Regions from separate parts of the Homo sapiens genome. Here all the other regions are linked to region 3. Evidence: promoter capture Hi-C in 16 types of primary human blood cells and fetal thymus (Javierre and others, 2016). All regions are on one chromosome and are shown on one strand. Each heading gives the region's core, a stretch centred on a gene start or on the middle of the fragment in contact. The rest is flanking DNA. Distances are from core to core; before and after follow the strand shown. Region 1 holds the start of MSI1 (musashi RNA binding protein 1). Region 2 holds the start of HNF1A-AS1 (HNF1A antisense RNA 1). Region 3 holds the start of CABP1 (calcium binding protein 1). Region 4 overlaps LOC105378258 (a long non-coding RNA gene). Region 5 overlaps LOC105370030 (a long non-coding RNA gene).

Region 1 (4,276 bases), core at 280-2,779, 270 kb after region 3:
CCCCCAGCAGGGATGGGGAGAAGGGGTGTTGGCCACCTAAGCTTCCTGGTTTGATCCTTTTTTGGCTGGTTTCAGCTGGGGAAGTGAAGGGTCCTAAGGCTTGGATATGGAGAGGTGGGAATATGGAGAGGTGGGGATATGGAGAGGCGGGGATAAGGAGAGGTGGGGATAAGGAGAGTGGCCCCGCAGCTCCCCTGGTGAACCAGAATACTTTCTCAGGGTTGTTCCCAGGCTGGAGGGAGGGAATTTTAGGGGTACGTAAGGTGACTCCAAGGAGCCTTGGGTGCAAGTACTGGGGGATCCCAGAGACCCAGAAGATGGGGGTAGAAAGGAAGGTGTTTGCCTTCACGGGGAGTAGCCTCAAAATAAGAGGGACTGAGGGAAGTCATTCCAAATGCAGTGGGTAGGTAGTTTAGGCTCTTCCAATGGGATGGGGTGGAGCTTAGACCTCTGCAAAAGAAGGGGGTCATTCGGAGGGGACGGTGCACAGCTGAGGCGTTGGGCTCCTAAACTGGAAACAGGAGGCTCTAAGAGGCACTGCCTTTTCCTCCAGCCTCGGTGTGGTGGGGGTGGTGAGTGTCTGGAACCGGGTTTCCCGAATCAGGACAGGAGTCTGAATGGATCTCACAAAAACCGGCCAGGGAGGGAGAGAACCAGGGGAGACTCCTCACACCGGGAGGTGGGGGTGGCGGCAAACTGAGAACCCGGGCTTGGGGCGCGGGATTTTCTCAACAGACCATAGGGTCCACTAATGTGGACGGCAGGGATTTGGGGAAACTAAGGGGGACTCTCACTTTGGACACCAAGGGCTGAGGACGGATTGGGGAAGAGGATACGGTTTCTACTGGGGTGCTGATGGAGGTTCCCCACTCGGGACGCGAGGCACTGAGTGGGTCCCCCAAACTGGATATGGGATCCTGGGAACGGAGCGAGGGCTCTAAATTAGAGCCCTGGGGTGGGGGTGGGGGGCTGTAAATTAGGTTGGGAGGAAACTGGGGGCTCTGAGGGCGGCTTCTCGCTCCGACTGGGGAAATGGAGCATGTGGGGACTGGGGAGCACTAGGGCTATCTCCCGCCCGACCCGAGGAGATTGGGGTTCTCTTCAATTCTGGACAGCAGGGACCTGAGAGGGAAGACCGGGGGGGTTCCCGATCCGGAACCGAGCTACCTTGAAGGCACCGGGAAGCGCTTCATTCCGGGAGGGCGTTCCCGCGGCCGGGCCCCCGCGCCGGGGTGGGTGGGGGGTGCGGCCGCGCCCTGGTCCCGGCCCGCACCGGGATTCGGGGGTCTCGCTCGGCCCCGGAGACCCAGGAGCCCCGCGGGAAGGGGGTCCCGGCGCCGCCGCCTCCGCGGGCGCCCGGGCTCGCGGGCGAGCGCGGGGCTTTATGCGCGCAGGGCGGCGGGGGGAGGAGCCGGCAGGTCGGCCCCCGGCGGGCCCTCCCCTCGGCCGTCCCCGCCCGCCCGCCCGAGCGGGGTCGGGGGAGGGGGCAGCATGGCCTGTCCGTCCGGCCCCCTTCGCCGCGCTCCTCATCTGCCCCGCGCCGAGCGCCGCCGCCGCCGCCGCCGCCGCCGCTCCGCTGCCCGCGCCGCCCGCGGCTCCCGATGGAGACTGACGCGCCCCAGCCCGGCCTCGCCTCCCCGGACTCGCCGCACGACCCCTGGTACGGCCCGGCCCGGCCTGCTTGGCCCGCGCCCGCCCCGGCCCCGCCAACATGGCCGATCCGGGTCCGGCCGGGCCTCCCCGGAGCCCGGGCCCGCGCCCCCTGCGCCCTGGCGCCCGGCGCTCACGCGGGCCCTTTGTGTCTCTCCTCCTCCCGCAGCAAGATGTTCATCGGGGGACTCAGTTGGCAGACTACGCAGGGTGAGCGAGCCCGGGAGCGCCCGCCGGTCCGGCAGGGCACCCCGGACCCCCCGGCGCCCCGGACCCGGACACCCCAGCCCGGCCCTGCGCCCTGCTGACCCCGGGCGCCCTCGCGCCCTCTTTCGCGCCCCGCCCGGAGACCCCGAGAGCGCAGGGCGATCCGCGAGCGCACCCGGCCCAGCGGGTGGAGGGGAGCAGATGAGGGGTTCAGGGGGTATCGGGGGGTGGGCTGGGCCCCCGGGACCCGCCGGCGGCAGCGCCAACTCCGCTCGCACCTGCGGCTCAAACTTTTGTGAGGCTGCTCCCGGAGCGGCGGGAACCCGGCCGGAGCCGTCCCCCTTCCAGCCCAGCTCGGCCCTCGGCTTCCCGGGGCCCCGGTGGGCGCCAGGAGGCTCAGCGGGAACGGGGCGAGGGCGGTGGGGGGCGGCGGCAGTGGAGAACGCGCGGGCAGCTTGGCGCGGGGGCGGCCGGGCCGCTCCGGGGTCACCGGGGGCAAAGGACGGGGGGGGGGGAAGGGCGCGGGGCCCGGGCTGGTCCGAAGGCGGGTGTGTGGTTACAGAAGGGCTGCGCGAATACTTCGGCCAGTTCGGGGAGGTGAAGGAGTGTCTGGTGATGCGGGACCCCCTGACCAAGAGATCCAGGTGAGCCCCTCACCCCCTCCTCCTGCTCCCGGCTCGCCCCCCTCCACCCGCCACTCACTGCCTTGTAACCATCTGCCTCTCCCTCACTACGGCGCGCAGGGGTTTCGGCTTCGTCACTTTCATGGACCAGGCGGGGGTGGATAAAGTGCTGGCGCAATCGCGGCACGAGCTCGACTCCAAAACAGTGAGTGGCCCTCGGGGCTTCGGGGGTCCTTTGGGAGAGGGAGGCTGCCGGAGGAGAGGGTCAGGACTCTCCCCAGGGGACAGCTGGACGGGGTCCATGAGGAAGGAGGGAGTTTTTCTGAGTAAGAGGGCTGCCATGCTCTGAAACTTTGTCACTAGAGTTGGGGGGGAGAGGGAGGAGAAAAATCCCTGGCCTGCCATGAGATGCTACATCCCCCCTCCCCTAGTCCTGGTGAGGGGAGAGGCAGCCGCCACCCTCTCCCTAGAAGTACTAATCATGATGCCTCAGAGCAGAGCTTGGGGTGGGGCTAGGTCCCTCCCCCAGCCCAAATTGGGTGAGTCAGGGTAGCACTGACCCACCCGGTGGCTTCTGTGAACTCTAACTAGTATTTGGCTCTGCGACACCCCCTCTTCATCCAGACCAATGGCAAAGCATCCCTTGAAGCCCCCTCCCTCTCTCCTTCCCTCCTCCCCCGACTTTTGGTCAATGAGCTCCTTGCTTTGTGTGGAAGACAGGGACCTGCTTTGCCCACGGAGGGGATTTATGAGAAAGGCTCTAGCTTGCCTGGAAACGACCCTTCGGAAGACTAGATCTTAGGAGAAGCTGCTTGGTTGGCATTCAAACTCATGGAACATTTTGCTGTTGTCCCACAGCTCCTTCGTGTCTTAGACCCTGCAGGGGGCGCTGGCTCCAGGGCAGATGGAAAAGTAGAAAAGTCAGAGGAGGGGGTTACTCCCATGTGATGGGGGTGTCTGTCTGCTGGGGGCAGGGATAGTGTGGATCTCTTCTCTCCATGCTTCCCTGCTGTCCCCCAGCCTTGGGCCTCTCTGCTTGGGTCAGTCCCTGGCTCCCGTTTACCTGCAACAATAGCTGCTTGTGCCCAAGAATTTGTCAAATTACCGCCTGTCCCCAGCTCCTGTTATCTCTGCCCAGTGGCTCCCGCTCCCGCTCGCAGTAATGAGCAAATGAGGCCAGGCCTCAACTTTGCCGGCTCTGAAAGGATCTTCTTGGCGCAGCCTGAGTGACCCAAGCCTGGAAATGGAGAGACAGTGGCCTATTGTTTTTGGTGATTATCTGCCATCAAGCTGCCTGTTCTGCTACCATCCCCTGTCCTCAGAATGCACTGATGGCTTCTGCAGTGCTGAGGAAGCTGAGATTTAGGGGCTGGGGGATGGAGGAGTGGAAGATTGATAAAGGGGAAGAGAATGAGGGAGGAAGGAGGGTGAGATGAGCATCCTTAGGAGATGGGGCTGAAAAGGGCCAGGGCTTTGTCTGTGTTTGGCGTCCTCCAGCCTGGGAAAGGGGGTGGGAGGGAGGTTTACTGTGGGGAGTCTATTTTGAGCTCTGACTTTCACCTTTTATTTACTTGTTGGGTTTTATTTATGTTGCCAGCTGTGAGTCACAGTGGAGGTGGGGTGTGTCAGGGATGGGGTGTGCGTGGGTCTGTGGGATCGTGGCTTGGGTACCATCTCCCCATCGGGGTCTGTGTAGGGGGACTGTGTGTGGTGCGCTGGTGGCTGGGGCGGCTGCTTCTGGGAGAAAGAGAAGGATGGACATGTCCGTGGAGGTGTGGAATTGAAACTTCAGGCGG
Region 2 (4,532 bases), core at 913-3,412, 330 kb before region 3:
TATTTATCTTTTTTGTTTGTTTTTTGAGACAGGGTCTCCTTCTGTCGCCCGAGCTGGAGTGCAGTGGCACAATCTTGGCAAACTGCAACCTATGCTTCTGGGGCTCCCGTGATCCTCCCACCTCAGCCTCTCCAATAGCTGGGACTACAAGCGTGTGCCACCATGCCTCGCTAATTTTTGTATTTTTTAGTAGAGACAAGAGTTTGCCACATTGCCCAGGCTGGTCTCAAACTCCTGAGCCCAAGCCATCTGCCCACCTCGTCCTCCCAAGGTGCTGGGATTACAGGGGTGAGCCACTGCACCCTGCCTATTTATTTACTTTTCTTAGAGATGGGGGTCTTGCTTTGTTGCCCAGGCTGGTCTCGAACTCCTGGGCTCAAGCAATCCTCTCACCTCAGCCTCCCAAAGTGTTGGGATTACAGGCATGAGCCATCTCACCTGGCCAGTAATGTATTTCACTCCAAGAACAACTCATGAATTAGGAACTGTTATAATCCCCCTTCTGCAGGGGAGGAAAGAGAGGCTCAGAGAGGTTAAATGACTGCTCAGAGTCCCTCAGAGCTGGGCTTTAAGTCCACCTGAGGCAGGCGGACGGGCTGTGCAGGACAAGTTGGCAGCCCCCGCCTTAAGGAGAGTGGTACCCTCTTTCCTCCAGTGCATTTATGTTTTATTTTTATTTTTGAGACAGAGCCTCACTTTGTCACCCAGGCTGGAGTACAGTGGTGCGATCTCAGCTCACTGTAACCTCTGCCTCCTGGGTTCGAGCAATCCTCCTACCTTAGCCTCCTGAGTAGCTGGGACTACAGGCACACACCACCATGCCTGGCTAATTTTTGTATTTTTGGTAGAGACAGGGTTTCACCATGTTTGCCAGGCTGGTCTCAAACTCCTGGCCTCAAAAGATCCACCCACCTCGGCCTCCCAAACTGTTGGGATTATAGGCGTGAGCCACCGTGCCCGGCCAAGTGCATTTTTTTGTAAACCCCCGTGCAAGTTGCTTTGAGGTTGAGCAGCTTACTGCTGGGGACAGCATTCTCAAGTCCAGGCTAAACAGGGAAGATGCTGTGTGCTGTCCCTTTGTGGCTTTGAGGTTCTCCTGCTTATTCTCTTTGCTGCCTGCAGCTGCCTCTTGGTGACTTTCCCTTTCCAGGGAGCCAGAGGAACCAAGGAGTGTTGGCCCTGACTCCTGCCCCCAGCATGTAAACTCATTAACTGCTGGGTCCTCAGGCAGTTAGGTGGCTGAGCATTTGAGTCTGGGACGGCAGGTGGATTTGGTTGGAGAGGGAATGACAGAGATTGGGGAGGAGCCTCCAGAGTCTAAAGAGATAGGTACACAAGCAGAAAGTTCCAGCCCCCAGCCTGCCTTTCCCCCATGCTCAGGGGACAAAGCTGAATTAACTCGAGGTCAGGAATGGCATTTGCATTTGCATTCTTGAGAGTCACTGCAAATAAGAGCTGTAGTCATGGTGAGTGGTTAAGGCAATGGACTAGAGAACCACTGAGAAAAAAAGCGAACAGTGGCTGGGCGCAGTGGCTCATGCCTGTCATCCCAGCACTTTGGGAGACCGAAGTGGGTGGATCACTTGAGGTCAGGAGTTCGAGACCAGCCTGGCCAACATGGTGAAAACCCGTCTCTACTAAAAATACAAAAATTAGCCAGGCTTGTCAGTGGGCACCTATAATCCCAGCTAGTCGGAAGGCTGAGGCAGGAGAATCACTTGAACCCAGAAGGCAGAGGTTGCAGTGAGCTGAGATCATGACACTGCACTCCAGCCTGGGTGACAGAGAGAAACTCCGTCTCAAAAAAAAAAGAAAAAGAAAAAAAAAAAAAGGAACAGCCGGACATGGTAGCTCATACCTGTAATCCCAGCGCTTTGGGAGACCGAGGCAGGTGGATCACCTGAGGTCAGGAGTTCCAGATCAGCCTGGCCAACATGGTAAAACCCCATCTCTACTAAAAATACAAAAATTAGCTGGATGTGGTGGCGCACACCTGTAGTCCCAGATACTCAGGAGGCTGAGGCAGGAGAATAGCTTGAACCCGGGAGGCGGAGGTTGCAGTGAGCAGAGATCACGCCACTGCACTCCAGCCTGGGCGATAGAGTAACAATCCGTCTCAAAAAAATCTGAAAATTAAAAATTAAAAAGTGAACAGTTGTTTAGTAAGTGCAGTAGGTAGGCCAAGATAACTATTAAGTATGTCCTAACAAGGTAGCTGCTTGAAAAAAATAATGCACATAAATTAAAAAAAAAAAAACTATTTTCACTCATTCTTAACTTCTCGTATGGATGTACTAACGGGAGGCCTGTGCCTGTTGGGCTGTCCACAGCTACTCAAACCTTGAGATTAGATTGGACGCTATCTAATCTCATTTCCTGTTACACAATAACTTCTGCATGGCACTTGCTTTTAATCATGACAACTGCCATACACTCAGCTTTACAAAATCATGTCATTGTGGAAAGGAAGTTCCCTCCATCTAACATTCAAATTTAACTATCCTGAGCTGGTAGTTTGCAAGGTGTCCAACAGATGTCACTGTGTTTCCTTCGCAAATTCTCTAAAATAGTCTGCTGTGTCCCGGGGCATAGTAGATATTCAAGAAATGGTGGCTATGAGTTTTATCACAATTCTCTCCTACTGGGTGAGCAGCTGTTTGCAAGACTAAAATTCGGGCGAGGCACAGGCTTCCCCTTGGTCTTAGCAGCTAGCACAAGACGAGTGTCCCTTCAGCCAGTCTCAGAGCTCTTTGGCAATTCAACTGACCCTTGTCCTTCAGTCCAGACAATGCCCCAGGGCCCACCTGCATTCAAACTCGGACTGTTCTCCTTCCCACCCCTATTATCTTTTCAACTTTATGGACAGTACATGCAATTTTCTCATTCATTTTCTCATTTAACATCTAACAGCTTCATGATATCCCCATTTTACAGATAAGGAAACCAAGGCTTTAAGAGGATAGGGACCCTAATCGGCTAAGGCAGAATTAGGATTTGAACCCAGATCCCCATGACGCCAGAATCTAAGCCTTGACCAAATATGTGTTACTATTACTTTTGTTGTTGTTGTTGTTCTGGGTAACTCCAACCCTCTGCTCGTTGGCCTTGTCACCTCAGTGCTGATTTTGCAGATGAAGAGACTAAGGTTCCGAGGTGCTAGAGCACAGTGGTTAGGAACACACACTCTAGAGCCAGAGTGCCTGGGTTTGAGCCTCGTTCTGCCGTTTACTAGCCGTATGGCCTTGGGCAACTTGCTTAACTTCTCTTTGCCTCAGTTCCTCTTCTCTTGGGTTGTTAGGAGAATGAATGAGGTGATATCCACAGTGTCCAACACCCTGCAAGCGGCCAGGTGTGGTGGATCACACCTGCAATCCCAGCACTTTGGGAGGCCGAGGCAGGTGGATCATTTGAGGTCAGGAGTTCGAGACCAGTCTGGCCAACATGGCGAAACCTCATTTCTACTAAAAATACAAAAATTAGCCGGGCGTGGTGGCAAACAACTGTAATCCGAGCTACTAGGGAGGCTGAGGCAGAAGAATCGCTTGAACCCAGGAGACAGAGGTTGCAGTGAGCCAAGATTGCACCACTGCACTCCAGCCTGGGCGACAGAGTGAGACCCTGCCTCAAAAACTAAAAATAAAAAATGAACAGTGTCCAACACCTTGAAAGCATTCCGCATGACTGAACGATCACTGTTACGTGATTACCAACATGACGACCCCACTTCTCTTGGCCAAACTGAGTTCTCTTCTCTTGTAAAAACTTCTGCATATGAAGTCACCCATTCCATTTGACTCTTTAGCCCTCATCCTGGCATTCAAGGGCATGGACGACTCAACCCCACTCTCTAGCCAGCCTGACCTCTCCATTCCCTTCTCTGGCGTAGAGGCCACTCCCACCACCTGCCCTTACCCCCTGCCCACTTTTGTCAGCCTGTACTGTGTTGAAGCTCCCAGGAGAGACAACTGCAGTCATCACTTTCCACTGTGTTCAGTGATGTCAGTTCGGCCCAGCTGGAGGTACTCACATCATGGAAACAGACCATCAGATTTGGTGTGTGTGTGTTTTATTTTGCTTTTTCAGAGAGCCAGCTGTTAAACACTAGCCAACACCCCATTGATGCTGTTCCTTCTACCTGAAACACCTCGCATTGCCGGTGAGCTCTAAAGACAAAAGGACCTGGGTCTGCATTTCCCAAAGGCAAGACTCTGGTATCACCTGCATATTATTTTCCCATATTTGAGCACCACTGCCTTTTGCATTATTTACTTAGCAGTTTTGCTCCTGTCAACTCACTTTTTTAAAACTAAACTTATTTTAAAAAGAAAAGTTTTGGCCGGGAGCGGTGGCTCATGCCTGTAATCCCAGCACTTTGGGAGGCCGAGGTGGGCAGATCACCTGAGGTCGGGAGTTCGAGACCAGCCTGACCAACATGGAGAAACTCCGTCTCTACTAAAAATACAAAATTAGCTGGGCGTGGTGGCGCATGCCTGTAATCCTAGCTACTCGGGAGGCTGTGGCAGGAGAATTGC
Region 3 (4,788 bases), core at 1,409-3,908:
AGATGGAAGCCCAAACTGAATGTGCTGGGCTTTAAAGTAAAAGCCCGCAGCTGAGAGGCAAGAGCTTCCACAGGGAGGTAGTAAATATTTGATGGGAACTTCCAGCTCCTCCTGACTCAGGTGACCCTGGTGACATTTCAGAACATTGGGCCGGAGAATTCACTTAATGACTGAGAAATTAGAAGGAGAAACAAAAGCACGTCGCTACAATGCTCGGAGCTCAGAAAGGGCTCATGTAGGCAAATTCTGCAAGACAGGAAAGAAAGGACTCTTTTTTTTTTTTTTTTTCAGGAGCTGAGTCAGATCAGCTGCAAACTGAGTAACCAGAAAGTGTATGATTCTAGGCCAATGACCTACCCTTCCAAACTGCTAGGTACAGCCAGGGCCCTGGCTATCTGGTTCACTGTTGTCTTCCTGGTGTCTAGCAAATGTCTGAACAAACAAACCACAGGAACTAAGGAAACCCCTGAAGGTTTCCTTAATAAATGCTCAAGAAATAATTGATAAATGAATGAATTGGTATCACCCATTCAACAACCCAGCATTCCTGCTGCAACCCAGCCCCAATCCAAAGACCACTCGTGCCCTGGCAGCCTACACCTCCTCATTAACACAAAGCACTGCAGTGAACTCCCCTGACACATCGCCTCACTAACTCTCACGGCTCTGCATCCACATCTCTACTCCAGAGAACTGTTTCCAGCTAACTCGGCTAACGAGGGCTCCCTGCAGGAACAAAGCCACACACCACTGCCCTATGGCCCCACCACAGCAGCACCACGCAACCCAAATCCATGTGCGGCTGCCTTCATGTCAGACCTCCACCAGCATCAGCCACTGCCGAGTAGTATTTTGAAAAGAAATGTGCAGATCTGAAGCAAAACACACAGGGCCTCCTTGGAATTCTGATCCGGCGTGGCAAGCCAGGAGCTTGAAACAGCTTCTTTATGCTAGATCTCAGCACAGAAAGGCACAGCCCCCCCTGTTTCCCTACAAACCACGCAAACGCTCTAATCAGACCTCTGCATGACACCTCTCGGAGGCTGCCACAGAACTGTCTCAAAGCTGTGCCAATGAGTTTGACTTGATTACAGACTCCGAACTAGGGGAAACCCTGGCTTTTTTGCTCAGGAGTTCAGAGGTTTCCTTCTACTGAGCCTGTTTCCCCAGCAGCACAGCCTCAAACTGTAGACCTATATTGTGACTACGGAGCTGCTTTTAAAGGGCAGGCTCCCAGGTGCCTGGGACTCTTGAGGGAAAGGCCTGAGGGAACCACTGATGACCTCTTTGTGGCCTTTCTCACCCTTCCAATGGCATCCCTAGAGTGACAGCCTCCTTAAACCACCCCAAAGTTCCAGTTTGAGCCACAGCTCTGCATGCCCCTCCATGCCTACCCAGACACCTCTTCTCTTTCCTCATATTTTTGGATCTCCTAACTTTTCTCAGGCCTTCAGGGACATGATAGGCAGTGGCCAGTGTCCCTCGCCCTCAAGTAATTCTGTGTTCTCTGAGGTCCCCTCTCTTGACCCCCAGACTCCAAACCGCTTGCTCTCCTGAGTCCCTCCCTGGCGGTACTGGCCAGAGGCCAGAGGAGTGGGTTTGGCGCCACCTGCTCGGAGCGCCCCTCCTTGACCCCCGCAAATCTCCAGGACGGTCGTAGAGGTCGCTCTCTTCCAGGACTGGCGGGTTCTGGCGGGTATGAGGGAGGCTAGCGGGGAGGGCCTTGCCCCAAGAGGCCCGGAGCGTGGACAGCGCACGGGGTGCTGAATCAGGCACGGGGAGGAGGAGTGCCGGCAAGGGCGCCGGCCCGGGGAGGACGAGGTGAGCCGAGGCGTGATCCGTGGGGGACCACGGGCCGCGGGAGGAGGCTGTGGACGCGCAACCGCGGCCGGCAGGGTCCCGAGCGCCTTTCCCGGGAGCGCTGACGGGAGGCGCGGCCCTTACCTGGCCAAAGGCGGAGCTGAGCATGGGGCGCAGCCGGTGGAGGAACGGGTCCGCCTCGGACGCGGCGGCTGGAACGGAGTCCCCGCGGCCCCGGGCTCGCAGAGAGCCCCGGAGGCCGAGCGCCGGGGACAGTCCCCGTTCCTCCCCATCCCGCCCGCGGGCCGGCGGCAGCGGCGACGACGGCGAAGGTCGGGACGCCGCGGCCGGCAGCGCCTCCCGGGGCCTGCAGTGCGCCTGGGGGAGCACACGCTGGCTCCCCCGCGCGCCCTCCTCTCGCGGCGCCGGCCGGCACAGGGGCCTCCGCGAACTGGGGTCCCCGGACGACTGCGGCGTCGCCGGGCAGGAGCCGGGTAGCCGGCGGCTAGGCAGCCCCGGGTCCCGGGCAGGGCCGTGGCGGGGAGCCCGGCTGCCCCCGCTCGCCGCCGCCGCCGCCGCCTTCAGCAGCGACGTCTTGGACTCGCTTTTGGCGATGTGCGAGCTCATCGCGGCGGGGCCCGCGCTCGCATGGCCCGGCGGGGGCGGCGCGGTGCGGCGCGGCGCGGGGCCCCCGGCGGGCAGAGAACGGGGCTCCCGGCGGGAGCCAAGCCCGAGGACGCGCTGGAGGCGGGCGCCGTCCCCCGGCCGCTTAAATGCGGCCCCGTCGCCGCCGCCCATGTGACAGCGCAGCCTCTACGCCCGGAGCCCGGAGCTCCCGGCGGCTGGCGGTGCAGATCTGGGGGCGCTGCCGGCTGTCCCCGGAGAGCCCACCCCCGGCTCCCTGGCGGCCCAGGTACCGCCGCGCCCCGCCCCTTGCCCCGCCCCGCCCTGGGGGAGCCCCGCTTCCGGGCGGCCCCTGGCGGCGAAGGGGACGCTGCAACGCGGAGCGGGAGCACGAGGAGGGAAGGGGCTTGGCAATGGGCCCCAAAGAGGCCGAGACCCCGGGAGTGCCGGCAGCGCTCTTTATCACGCCTGGAGGCTCCTGCAGAGCCCCGGAACCGCCCGAACCTCCAGAAATGCAGGCAGGGTGCACTCCCCAGGGGGTACAACTTTGGCAATGAGGACTACAGAGGTCCGGGGAGAACCGGAGACCCGAGGAGCATGAAGGCACTCTGTGACATCACTGCCTACAAACGCAGGGGCCGGAATGCAGTGACAGGACACTGCTGGGAGGAAAGTCTCCCAGCGCCTCCGTGTGGGGCTGCCTCCACTCCCAATACCGTGCGGGGGGACTAGGACGACCCTGGTAAGTCAGCCACAGGATATCAGTTCTCAGAATAGAAGAGAAGCCAGGTCTGGCAGCACCTGATGATGGTAAGTCTCAGGTAGGACCCATTTGCTCCCCCTCCAGCTCTTGTCCCCTCTTTCACCTTCCTGCCTTTCTAGATGCTACAGAAATTCCTGCTCTCGGTGGGCAGCCAGGGAGCGTCCCAGGCCTTATCTGAATCTCAAATCCCAGCTCTGCCACCTACCATCTGGGTAACTTGGGCAGGTGTCATCAACCTCTCTGAGCCTTGTTCTCCTCTTCTGTAAAATGCAGATGATAAGCATAACTAATTTCTTGGTAACAGCAGACGATACTATGCACACAAAAGGCCTAGCCCAGTGCTCGGACAGGGGACCATCCAGTTAAGCCAGTTCCCTTCCCCCTGCACATCGTGAGGCCCCATCTACCATTCTTCTTTAGTATCCGGTGCTTGAGCTTTGCGGGGGGCTGGAGGGGTTCCTCCCAGGCTCTCCCTGTTCTGGTCCCTGGCCCCAATGCCATCCACAGTCTTGTCACCGCTCGGCCTCATTAAAAGGATACACGAGGCCGGGCACAGTGGCTCGCACCTGTAATCCCAGCACTTTGGGAGGCCAAGACCGGCGGATCACTTGAGGTCAGGAGTTCGAGACCAGCCTGGCCAACATGGTGAAACCCTGTCTCTACTAAAAATACAAAAATTAGCCAGGCGTGGTGGTGGGCGCCTGTAATCCCAGCCACTTGTAGGCATGAGAATAACTTGAACCCGGGAAGTGAAAGTTGCAGTGAGCCGAGATTGGGTCACTACACTCCAGCCTGGGCAACAGAGTGAGACCCTGTCTCAAAAAAAAAAAAAAAAAAAAAAAAAAAGAAGGGTACACAAACAGATTGCCGATATTACACTTCACTCATGCCAAGAGTTCATCCTTCTCTGCACTGTCTGCTTCTTTACAGAGTGTTGCTCTGTCACCAGGCTGGAGTGCAGTGGCACGATCTCGGCTCACTGCAACCTCTGCCCCCCAGGTTCAAGCGATTCTCCTGCCTCAGCCTCCCGAGTAGCTGGGATTACAGGCACCCGCCACCACACCCAGCTAATTTTTTGTATTTTTAGTAGAGATGGGGTCTCACCATGTTAGCCAGGATGGTCTCGATCTCCTGACCTCATGATCTGCCCGCCTTGGCCTCCCAAAATGCTGGGATTACAGGCGTGAGCCACCGCGCTGGGCCCTGTGTGCCTCTTTTACTTATCCATAGGCAAGGAATTAAGGAAAATGGATGGGCTGGGAAAGCAACTGCCCAGAGGCTAAAGTAAACTAGGAAAGTGTGGCAAATTGTTCCCCAGATCAGCTACCCTTAAGGGACTGAATTGCCATATCAAAGCCACTCAGGTTCCTAAAGCCCAAATCCTGAAGCAGCCTGGGGCGTTGCAGCCCTGAAGGCTCATTGCAGGGTCCTCTGGGATATGCAGGGTGTAATGAGTCCACCCTTTGAGTTCGAGGTCAGTCAATGTCTTACCTGCTCCAGCCCTCAGAATAATCAGTGTTTGGCAGGATTAAAAACAAAGGCACATTCAATATAAATCACAGGAGATAAAGAACCTTATCAGAAACCCTCAGGAGCCAATG
Region 4 (4,793 bases), core at 197-2,696, 420 kb before region 3:
ATCACTTGAAGTCAGGAGTTCGAGACCAGCCTGGCCAACATGGTGAAACAGTCTCTACTAAAAATACAAAAATTAGCTGGGCGAGGTGATGGGTGCCTGTAGTCCCAGCTACTCAGGAGGCTGAAGCAGGAGAATTGCTTAAACCCAGGAGACAGAGCTTGCAGTGAGCCAAGATCACGCCACTGCACTCCAGCCTGGGCAACAGAGCAAGACTCCATCTCGAAAAAAAAAAGAAAAAGAAAAAAAAAAAACTTTGAAAGAAGCCAAAGGAAAATATACATACTACTCATAGAGGCACTAGTATAAGAATTACACTGGGCAGGGTGCAGTGGTTCACACTTATAATCCCAGCACTTTGGAGGCCAAGGCAGTAGGACTGCTTGAGCTCAGGAGTTTGAGACCAGCCTGGGCAACATAGAGAAACCCCATCTCTACAAAAAATATGAAATATTAGCAAGGCTTGCCAGTGTTTGCCTGTGGTTCCAGCTACTCGGGAGGCTGAGGCAGAAGGCTCACTTGAGCCTGGGAGGTTGAGGCTACAGTAAGTCAAGATTAAGGCACTGTGCTCCAGCTTGGGCACCAGAGTGAAACCCTGTCTCAGGGGAAAAAAAAAAAAAAAGAATTACGTTGAACTTCTTGTCAGGAACCACATAAGAAGGAAGAGAGTGGAGTAAAATACCTAGTGTTGAAAGAAAAAGCCCCCACACCTAGAATTCTGTACCTATCAAAATTATCCTTCAAAAGTGAAAGAGAAATAAAGAACTTTCAGGTAAGCAAAAAATGGTGGGGCATTTTGGAAGAATATAGATTTCCATTTCATAAATGCAGAAAGAATGAGGGAAATGGAGAATTGCATTGAGGCAAAATTCATCAGTAATTTATAGCCAGTAGATCTATCTTGTAAGAAATGTTATTTAAAAAAAAAAACCAAAAAAAAAAAAACTTGTTCAGAGACAAGGAAAATAGGTCAGAAACAACATCACTTTTGAGCTGAAATTTTTATTCACTATTTTATGTCATTTTTCTTTAAAGGGATCTAGAAAATTTTAGAAGCTCCACAAACCCTGGATAGGCTTTTGCAGCCAGCCATGAGCTTATCCCGCCCCTCTCACTCCACCTTATCCACCCACATTTCCAAAAACCCAGTCTTATTTTGTGACCCAGAGTCACAAGCTCCCCAAACGTGCTCAATACGTATGCTCCCAACAAATGGCAAAATCTTATTTTTACCATTAACGAAAAGAAGAAGAAAATCATTCTGGCGTTTTGTTGATGATGGTTGAGATGAGGGCAACTTCGAACTTAGAACCCTGAGTGGAACCGCTTTTTGTTCTTCCTGGGAATACCTGTTGGAAACAAGAATTAAAGAATGTGGTTACAGCCGGACGCGGTGGCTCACACCTGCAATCCCAGTACTTTGGGAGTCCGAGGCAGGCGGATCACCTGAGGTCAGGAGTTCAAGACCAGCCTGGTCAACATGGCGAAACCCTGTCTCTACAAAAAATACAAAAATTAGCCAGGGGCGGTGGCTTGTGCCTGTAATCCCAGCTGCTCAGGAGTCTGGGGCAGGAGAATCATTTGAACCCAGGAGGCAGAGGTTGCAGTGAGCTAAGATCCCACCACCGCACTCCAGCCTGGGCAACGAGAGCGAGACTCTGTCTCAAAAAAAAAAAAAAAAAAAAAAATTAAAAAAAAAAAGAATGTGGTTATTAGAGGCAATTCAGGATTATCCAGGCTTCCCTTGAAGAAACATATGCAAGGCTCTAAAATGGGAGCCAGATGGAAGAAAAAGTTGCAGGCTTACTGGGGAGGTGGGAAACACCCGGATCCCAGTCCCACATGTGACTTGAGAGCTGAGAGGCTGATGACTAGATGCCCTGCTGCCCCAGGGCTCCCTTCTGACTGATATGAAGGCTGGAGATTTTCCCTACACTATCCCTTAGCACCCAGCATGATGCACAAAAAACAGGAATTCAATAAAAAGGTTTGAGATGTGACTCTTGTTTAGGATGTCTTTTGGTCCTCAAGAATCTTCCACAGGAGAAGCCAAGCATGGTGGCATGCACTGTAATCCCAGCTATTCAGGAGGCTGAATGAAGCAGGAAGATCCTTTGAGCCCAGGAATTTGACTCCAGCCTGGGCAACATAGCGAGACGCCCCTCCATCTCTAATAAAAATTTTGAAAAATAAAAAAAAGCATCTTCCACAGCAGAGATTCTTTTTTTTTTTTTTTTTTTTTGAGACGGAGTCTCGCTCTGTCGCCCAGGCCGGACTGCGGACTGCAGTGGCGCAATCTCGGCTCACTGCAAGCTCCGCTTCCCGGGTTCACGCCATTCTCCTGCCTCAGCCTCCCGAGTAGCTGGGACTACAGGCGCCCGCCACCGCGCCCGGCTAATTTTTTGTATTTTTAGTAGAGACGGGGTTTCACCTTGTTAACCAGGATGGTCTCGATCTCCTGACCTCATGATCCACCCGCCTCGGCCTCCCAAAGTGCTGGGATTACAGGCGTGAGCCACCGCGCCCGGCCCAGAGATTCTTTTTTTATTTTTTTGAGACAGAGTCTGACGCCCAGGCTGAAGTGCAGTGGCACGATCTTGGCTCACCGCAACCTCTGCCTCCCCAGTTCAAGCGATTCTCCTGCCTCAGCCTCCCGAGCAGCTTGGATTACAGGCGCCCACCACCACGCCTGACTAATTCTTTTGTATTTTTAGTAGAGATGGGGTTTCACCATATTGGCCAGGCTGGTCTCAAACTCCTGACCTCAAGTGATCCACCCGCCTCAACCTCCCAAAGTGCTGGGATTACAGACATGAGCCATCGTGTCCGGCCCCATAGCAGAGATTCTTAACTTGGGGTCCAGGAAGCCCCTGAAATTGCATGCAAAATATTAGCATTAACATGTTTTTTAGAGGGAGGGCCCCTTGCATTCATCATTTTCTCTGGTGCTCACAAGACTTCAAAATGTTAAGAAACACTGGGGTAAATGAAGAAGCAAGCACCTCCAGGAAGGAGGTCCCGCACCACCATGCACAGAGTGTCTGCAATGCAGAACCAGAGAGGACCTTTGGGATGGTCCACTGTGGTTGAGCCACCATACTCAAAGATGGGGACCCTTGATAGATGCCTTGACGAAGCAAGCAGAAGGTCACCAGGAAGTTCTCTGTCCTCCACCATCTATCCGTTTTATGGACTAAAAAATAGTCACAAGATTGAAGTGCTTTTGCTTCCTAGGAAACATGGTGTCATTCATTCATTTATTCAGCCAACATTAACTGAGGCCCCATTGTGTGCCAAGAAATGTGCTAGACCCTGGGACCACGTGCTTCTCACGCTGAAGATTCCCAGTAGAGAAGACACATAACAAACTGCCCGTAGAATGGGGCTGCCTTATTCATTTATGTATTCTCCAAGCCTCGCCCAGTGCCCAGCACGTAGTAGGAGCTCAATAAATAATAAGTGCCTTGGGCAGTAAGATAATGTCGTGGGTAAACCTCTGGCATTTAGAATCAGAGAACCTGGGTTTGAATCACAGCTTGTCCACTTCTTTGGTGTGTGACTCTGGGCAGGCCACATCATCTTGCTGAGACTCGATTTCTTCATAATGTAACATGGTGTGAACCTGCATCACAGAGTCTTGTGGGGATTATGGGAACTAAACTGTGAAAAGAGGCTGGGTGTGGAGGCTCGCGACTCTAATCCCAGCACTTTGGGAGGTCAAGGCAGGCGGATCACTGGAGCCCAGGAGTTTGAGACCAGCCTGGGCAGCATAGCAAAACCCCATCTCTACAAAAAAAAAAAGTACAAAAATTAGCCAGGCTCAGTGATGCATACTTGTAGTCTCAGCTACTCAGGAGGCTGAGGTGGGAGAATCACTTGAGCCTGGGAGGTGAGGTTGCAGTGAGCCCAGATCATGCCACGCACTCCAGCCTGGGTGACAGAGCCAGATCCCATCTCAAAAAAAATAAAGAATAAAATAAACTGTGTAGAGAGCCTGGTATACACGAAGTGCTTGATAAGTATAGCTATTGGAGTTAATATCAATACCATAATGTCAAAGAGCCCTGGTAAACACTCTGGGCTCCTGTCTGCCTTCTGAAAAACAAGGATTAAGCAGATCCCCTCTGTCTCTTCTGTACTAGGATCCTAGGAACTACAAATGGTGATTGTTTTAGGTGGGTGTGGAGCATCATCTTGTGGAAGAGAGGAAAATTGACAAAAATGTCGCAGTTTCCTATTAAGAATATATATTGGAATTCACAGTTTTTAAAATATGAGTACATATACCAAAAATGCCCTAATGCAAGGTGATCCCCAAATCCAATCAATTTTTCCAATGGACTAATAACAAATATTTGCCAGGGAGAAAATAAAAATGTGTTTGAGAATCACATGGATCAATGGGGAAAAACATAAAAATAAATGAAAAATAAAAATATGTTGGCATAGCCCTAATTACATAAGCTTAAGGGAAATCAAATATGCACTTCCAATATTTCGTTAATTTATTTAGATACAGCTATACATTTGTATATGTTATGGGGTAATATACAAATATTACTCTTTTCCACTTTCAGTTTTCAAAAAGATTTTGTAACTCAAGCTCTTCACAGGCATCTCCCACTTAGTGGTTTTCCCTCTCCAAGGCAATTTTTGAATCTTCTAAGCCTGTGTTTCAGGGCTCAGTATTTTTTACTCTGTTAAGCAGAGTGAGAGACAGGCTGTCATGAATCTGGACATTTTTATTTTTAATTTTTTTTAGACAGGGTCTCATTCTGTTGCCCAGGCTGGAGTGC
Region 5 (4,464 bases), core at 1-2,500, 480 kb before region 3:
TGTACAGATATTCCACATTTTGTTTGTCTGTTAATCCGTAGATGAACATTTAGTTTCTTTCCACTTTTTGGCTACTGTGGATAATGCTGGTATAAACATGGTTCTACAAATTCCTATTCATGTTCCTGCCTTCAATTCTTTGGGGGGATATAGCCAGTAGTAGAATTGCTGGGTCATGTGGTAATTCTGTATTTAAGTTTTTGAGGAAACACGTTTTGTTTTTTCTTTTTTATTCTTTTAACACAAAGAACATTTCTTCTGTATTTTTATGTAATCTGCCAGGATAGCCACGCGTGCCTGATAGCATCTCCTTTTAAACCCAAAAGCTGAATACATCACCCTTGGAAGGGGAAATATCTTCCTTGTATCAGTGAGTCACCGCCTCTCTCGCTAAAGCAGAAATAAAAATTATTAATTTAATTCCAGCTGGGCACATTGGCTCATGCCTGTAATCCCAGCATTTTGGGAGGCCAAGGCAGACAGATCATCTGAGGTCAGGGGTTCGAGACCACCTTGGCCAACATGGTGAAATCCCATCTCTACTAAAAATATAAAAATTAACTGGGCATGGTGTTAGGCATCTGTAGTTCCAGCTACTCAGGAGGCTGAGGCAAGGGGATCACTTGAACCTTGGAGGTGGAGGTTGCAGTGAGCCGAGATCACACCGCTGCATTCCAGCCTAGGCAATGAGTGAGACTCCGTCTTAAAAAAATAAAAATAAAAATAAAAATAAAAATGTAATTCCAACAGTGCATTTTGCTACAGAGGATAGAGAGGGGAAGCAGAATAAAGTTATGCTGAATAGTTGGACATTTAGGACATGAGACAAAAAACAGAAGCAGAGAGACTGAGAGAAGGAAGAGAGGAGCTGAGTTATGGGGCTGTGGCGTGAAGACCACCAGCCCCAAGACTCCCTCGAGTGATCCTCAATAAAGAGTTCCTCCCTAGTCCTGGACTCCAGGAGGCCTGACTCATTTACAACATGTCTTCTTGTTTTCTACGAGATCTCGTCTTCCATATTTCTCTCTGAGCATCCGCATAAGAAGCCCTAAGTGTGTAACTGTTCAAACGAACGCAGCTAAAACACAGTCTCATTCCCTTGGTTCCCACCAAACTGACAGCACCTTCATGTCAATGACATTGACTCACTTGGGCCCATTTTGTTGAGCCAGTGACATGGCACTCATCAGAGTAGTCGTCTCAATCCAGCTAAAGAGCTCCAAGCCAAATGGAGAAGCCAGTGGAATGGGTAGGAACTGGGATTGTCACTATGCTGAGGAATGGAGATGGTGATATGGGATAAAGCAGGTACAGCAAGCAGGACGTGAGGGCCAGAGCTGAGGGGTCTGCAGGTCAGGAGGCTGAGCTCAGGATCGCTGGAGGCCCCAGGAAGGTGTAGGGAGGGCACCTTGGTTCTGCCCACCTGCAGGAAGAGAAGAGGGGATGGCGATAGAGTCCATGATTGAAGATCTCTGTACTTCTCCCTGCCCATGGCATAGCTCTTACCAAAACTCCCTCTTTTCACTGGCCTTTTTATCCAGTCAAACCAAATTTCCCTTGTCTCTCTCTCTCTCTCTCTCTTTCTCTTGCTTTTTTTCATACCCACCCCCATTTCTCTTATGCCTAGAACAGTCGCCCACTTAGCATCTGCCTGCCCAGTACTTTGCCTTCCTTTACAACTCCACCTACCACTTAATTTCTCTAAGTGGCTAATTAACTGAAAGTTGAATAATTATACCTCTTTCCCCAAAACACATCTCTGAAATCCCACATGCCCCTGGGGTTGCGATCCATGAAGAAAGGTCTCTGACTACCTAATTTTCATTAAGGGAATTCAATGAGATGACTAATTACAAGCACCATGCCTGGTATCTAATACTGTTCAGTGAACTGCAGCTATTAATTAATAATGATATGTTATTAATAATAATAAAATAATAATATGATATAAGCTCTTAGAAGACAAGGACAGTGGCTGCTCTATGCCAAGTTTCAATAATCCAATATTCAATTTTTTTTTTTTTTGAGACAGAATCTCGCTCTGTCGCTCAGGCTGGAGTGCAATGGCACGATTTCGGCTCACTGCAACCTCCATCTCCTGGGTTCAAGCAATTCTCTGCCTCAGCCTCCCGAGTAGCTGGGATTACAGGTGCCTGCCACCATGCCCAGCTAATTTTTGTATTTTTAGTAGAGACAGGGTTTCACCATCTTGTTCAGGCTGGTCTTGAACTCCTGACCTCGTGATCCACCCACCTCAGCCTCCCAAAGTGCTAGGTTTCTAGGCGTGAACCACCATGTCTGACCTCAGATATTTAATTGTAGCAGAGATTGATAGATTTTTCTGCCATGCCCATCTTCCCCCTCTAGCTCAATTTGAGATCACAGACCTTCATATCCATAGCTGTGGCTTATTGGACCAGGGTGAACATCTGCCCAGGAGAGCAAGACTATTGGCTGGTCAGTGGCCAATTGGGACTGCTCTATTGAGAATATGAGCCATGTGTAGCGGCTCATGCCTGTAATCCCAGCAATTTGGGAGGCCAAGGCAGGAGGATCACTTGAGGCCAAGAGTTCAAGACCAGCCTGGGCAACATAGCGAGACCCTGTCTCTACAAAAAAAAATTTTTTTTAATTAGGCATGGTGGTGTGTGCTTGTAGCCTAGCTACTTGGGAGCCTGAGGTGGGAGGATTGCTTTAGCCAAGAGTTTATTTGTAGAGATGAGGTTTCACTATGTTGCCCAGGCTGGTCTCAAACTCCTGGGCTCAAGCAATCCTCCCACCTCGGCCTCCCAGAGTGGTAAGATTACAAGCGTGAGTCACCAGACCCAACCCCAGCTCTGCCATCTCTATGGTGTTACCTTCATCAGCATGATCCAAAATGGTTCCCACCAGAACTGAATTCTAAAAAGGCTGGAAGCACTTTAGGAGGCTGAGGCAGGTGGATCACCTGAGGTCAGGAGTTCGAGACCAGCCTGGCCAACATGGTGAAACCTCATCTTTACTAAAAATACAAAAAATTAGCTGGGCGTGGTGGCACGTGCCTATAATCCCAGCTATTTGGGAAGCTGAAGCAGGAGAATTGCTTGAACCCAGGAGGTGGAGGTTGCAATGAGCGGAGATTGCACTACTACACTCCAGCCTGGGTGACAGAGCAAGACTCCATTTTTCAAAATCAATAAATCAATAAAAAATTAAAAGCCTGGAAGAAAGAGGAAAGGAGAAAGAGAAGGCATGTTCCTCCCTTGAAGGATGGGATCTGTCACTGCCACTTGCAGGTCATTGGCCAGAGCGTAGTCACATGGTCACACCTACCTGCAGTAGAAGGTAGGAAATGCCATCCTCATTCTGCTGACCATGTTCCCTACCGAAAATCAGGGAGCCAGACATTGAAGACAACCAAGAATTCCTGCCACCAGTACCCATGAAACAGTCCTCTGAGCTGGGGCTGAATGAGTCCTACACATGGAAGGAAATCTTTGGGTTTCCAGGGGATCTGGGCAGCTCTGAGGCATATAACATAGCCCAGCCAGGAAAAAGCTCCCAAAAGAGAATTTATTTGTCCAGGAATGTACAGGCAAAAAATCACCATTCTGTGTTTTTCCATGGGGTAGAGGCCTGACCAACCTCATGTGGTTTGTTCCGTCCAGCTTGGCACTGACAGAGGCTGGTGGGGCCTGGGGGAGGGTCTGAAAATCCAGGGTCTCAGGTATGAACTACTGCTCTGATCAACTGCTAGGCTGTGTCCTGTGGGAATGTGCTGGGTTTCTACATGACCCAGAGGTCACTGATTTCACAAGATCTGCAAACAATCCAATATTCAAATATTTAACTATAGCAGAGATTGATAGATTTTTCTGCCATGCCCAGTATCCCCCTATAGCTCAATCTGAAATCAACAGACCTTCATATCCACAGCTGTGGCTTATTGGACCATTCCCTGATCCACCAGCTGAACGAGAGTCATGCTGTCCTCTGAGGCTCCACCATACCTGGAATAGACATCTCTTGGTAGGACCATGCTTCCTGTGTTCTCAGTTGATATGGCTCAGATTGAGCTGTCCCCTTCCGCAAGTCCCAGGGGCAGGTCCAGGATCCAGTCCTAGATAATCAAAGCACAATTTTTCCCTGGCTACTGTGCTTTGTTCAAGAGCAGGCACATGATTCAGGTTGGTCTGAGACAAGTCTTGGAATTTTGGCTAAAATCATTGAAAAAGTGGTGCTCTTTGAGTTGGAGTTGCTAAGCTGGCAGGACATAAGCCTAAAGCTCTTGGTGGCCGTCATGCCAGCAGGGAATTAAGTTGACTCAGAGAAAACCAGAGGCAGAGGGTAATGATGGAGGGATTTCTGATGACATCATTTGAACACACTGATCAAGCCATACCTGAAACCTCACTAGATTTAGGAGCCAATAACCTCCCTTTATTGCTTAAGCCAATTGGAGCAGGCATACATATCACTTTTGAC

What was found. The method cuts DNA at HindIII sites, captures the fragments that hold promoters and counts their contacts. A CHiCAGO score of 5 or more calls a contact.
Region 1: the fragment with the promoter of MSI1 here is called in contact with the fragment with the promoter of CABP1 in region 3 in 1 of 17 cell types (total CD8 T cells); the score reaches 5.2 in total CD8 T cells.
Region 2: a contact is called between the fragment with the promoter of HNF1A-AS1 here and the fragment with the promoter of CABP1 in region 3, in 2 of 17 cell types (erythroblasts and monocytes). The highest score is 7.0, in erythroblasts.
Region 4: a contact is called between a fragment that was not itself captured here and the fragment with the promoter of CABP1 in region 3, in 1 of 17 cell types (naive B cells). The highest score is 5.4, in naive B cells.
Region 5: a fragment that was not itself captured here is called in contact with the fragment with the promoter of CABP1 in region 3 in 1 of 17 cell types (naive CD8 T cells); the score reaches 5.1 in naive CD8 T cells.

The regions. Positions count from the first base shown.
Region 1 is chr12:120,366,417-120,370,692 of GRCh38, reverse strand. MSI1 (musashi RNA binding protein 1) reads left to right here and starts at 1,529. Exons shown (of 15, transcript NM_002442.4): 1 at 1,529-1,660; 2 at 1,820-1,860; 3 at 2,420-2,501; 4 at 2,601-2,685. The coding sequence starts at 1,602. The HindIII fragment of the contact is 14,859 bases long and covers 44-4,276 here.
Region 2 is chr12:120,969,922-120,974,453 of GRCh38, reverse strand. It overlaps HNF1A-AS1 (HNF1A antisense RNA 1), which reads left to right and starts at 2,162. Exons shown (of 1, transcript NR_024345.1): 1 at 2,162-4,532. RefSeq lists an enhancer at 1,042-1,569. The HindIII fragment of the contact is 11,110 bases long and covers 1-4,532 here.
Region 3 is chr12:120,638,496-120,643,283 of GRCh38, reverse strand. It overlaps CABP1 (calcium binding protein 1), which reads right to left and starts at 2,658. Exons shown (of 6, transcript NM_001033677.2): 1 at 1,945-2,658. The coding sequence starts at 2,598. It overlaps CABP1-DT (CABP1 divergent transcript), which reads left to right and starts at 2,762. Exons shown (of 2, transcript NR_183426.1): 1 at 2,762-3,234. RefSeq lists silencers at 1,679-1,778, 1,999-2,168, 2,179-2,278, 2,499-2,798 and an enhancer at 4,270-4,771. The HindIII fragment of the contact is 19,814 bases long and covers 1-4,788 here.
Region 4 is chr12:121,061,423-121,066,215 of GRCh38, reverse strand. The region is part of intron 3 of LOC105378258 (a long non-coding RNA gene); the gene reads left to right. Among named protein-coding and RNA genes, the nearest start is that of OASL, 25 kb to the right of the region's middle. The HindIII fragment of the contact is 6,035 bases long and covers 1-4,463 here.
Region 5 is chr12:121,116,408-121,120,871 of GRCh38, reverse strand. It overlaps LOC105370030 (a long non-coding RNA gene), which reads right to left. Exons shown (of 3, transcript XR_007063494.1): 2 at 3,990-4,099; 3 at 1,166-1,423. Among named protein-coding and RNA genes, the nearest start is that of P2RX7, 14 kb to the left of the region's middle. The HindIII fragment of the contact is 9,656 bases long and covers 1-4,464 here.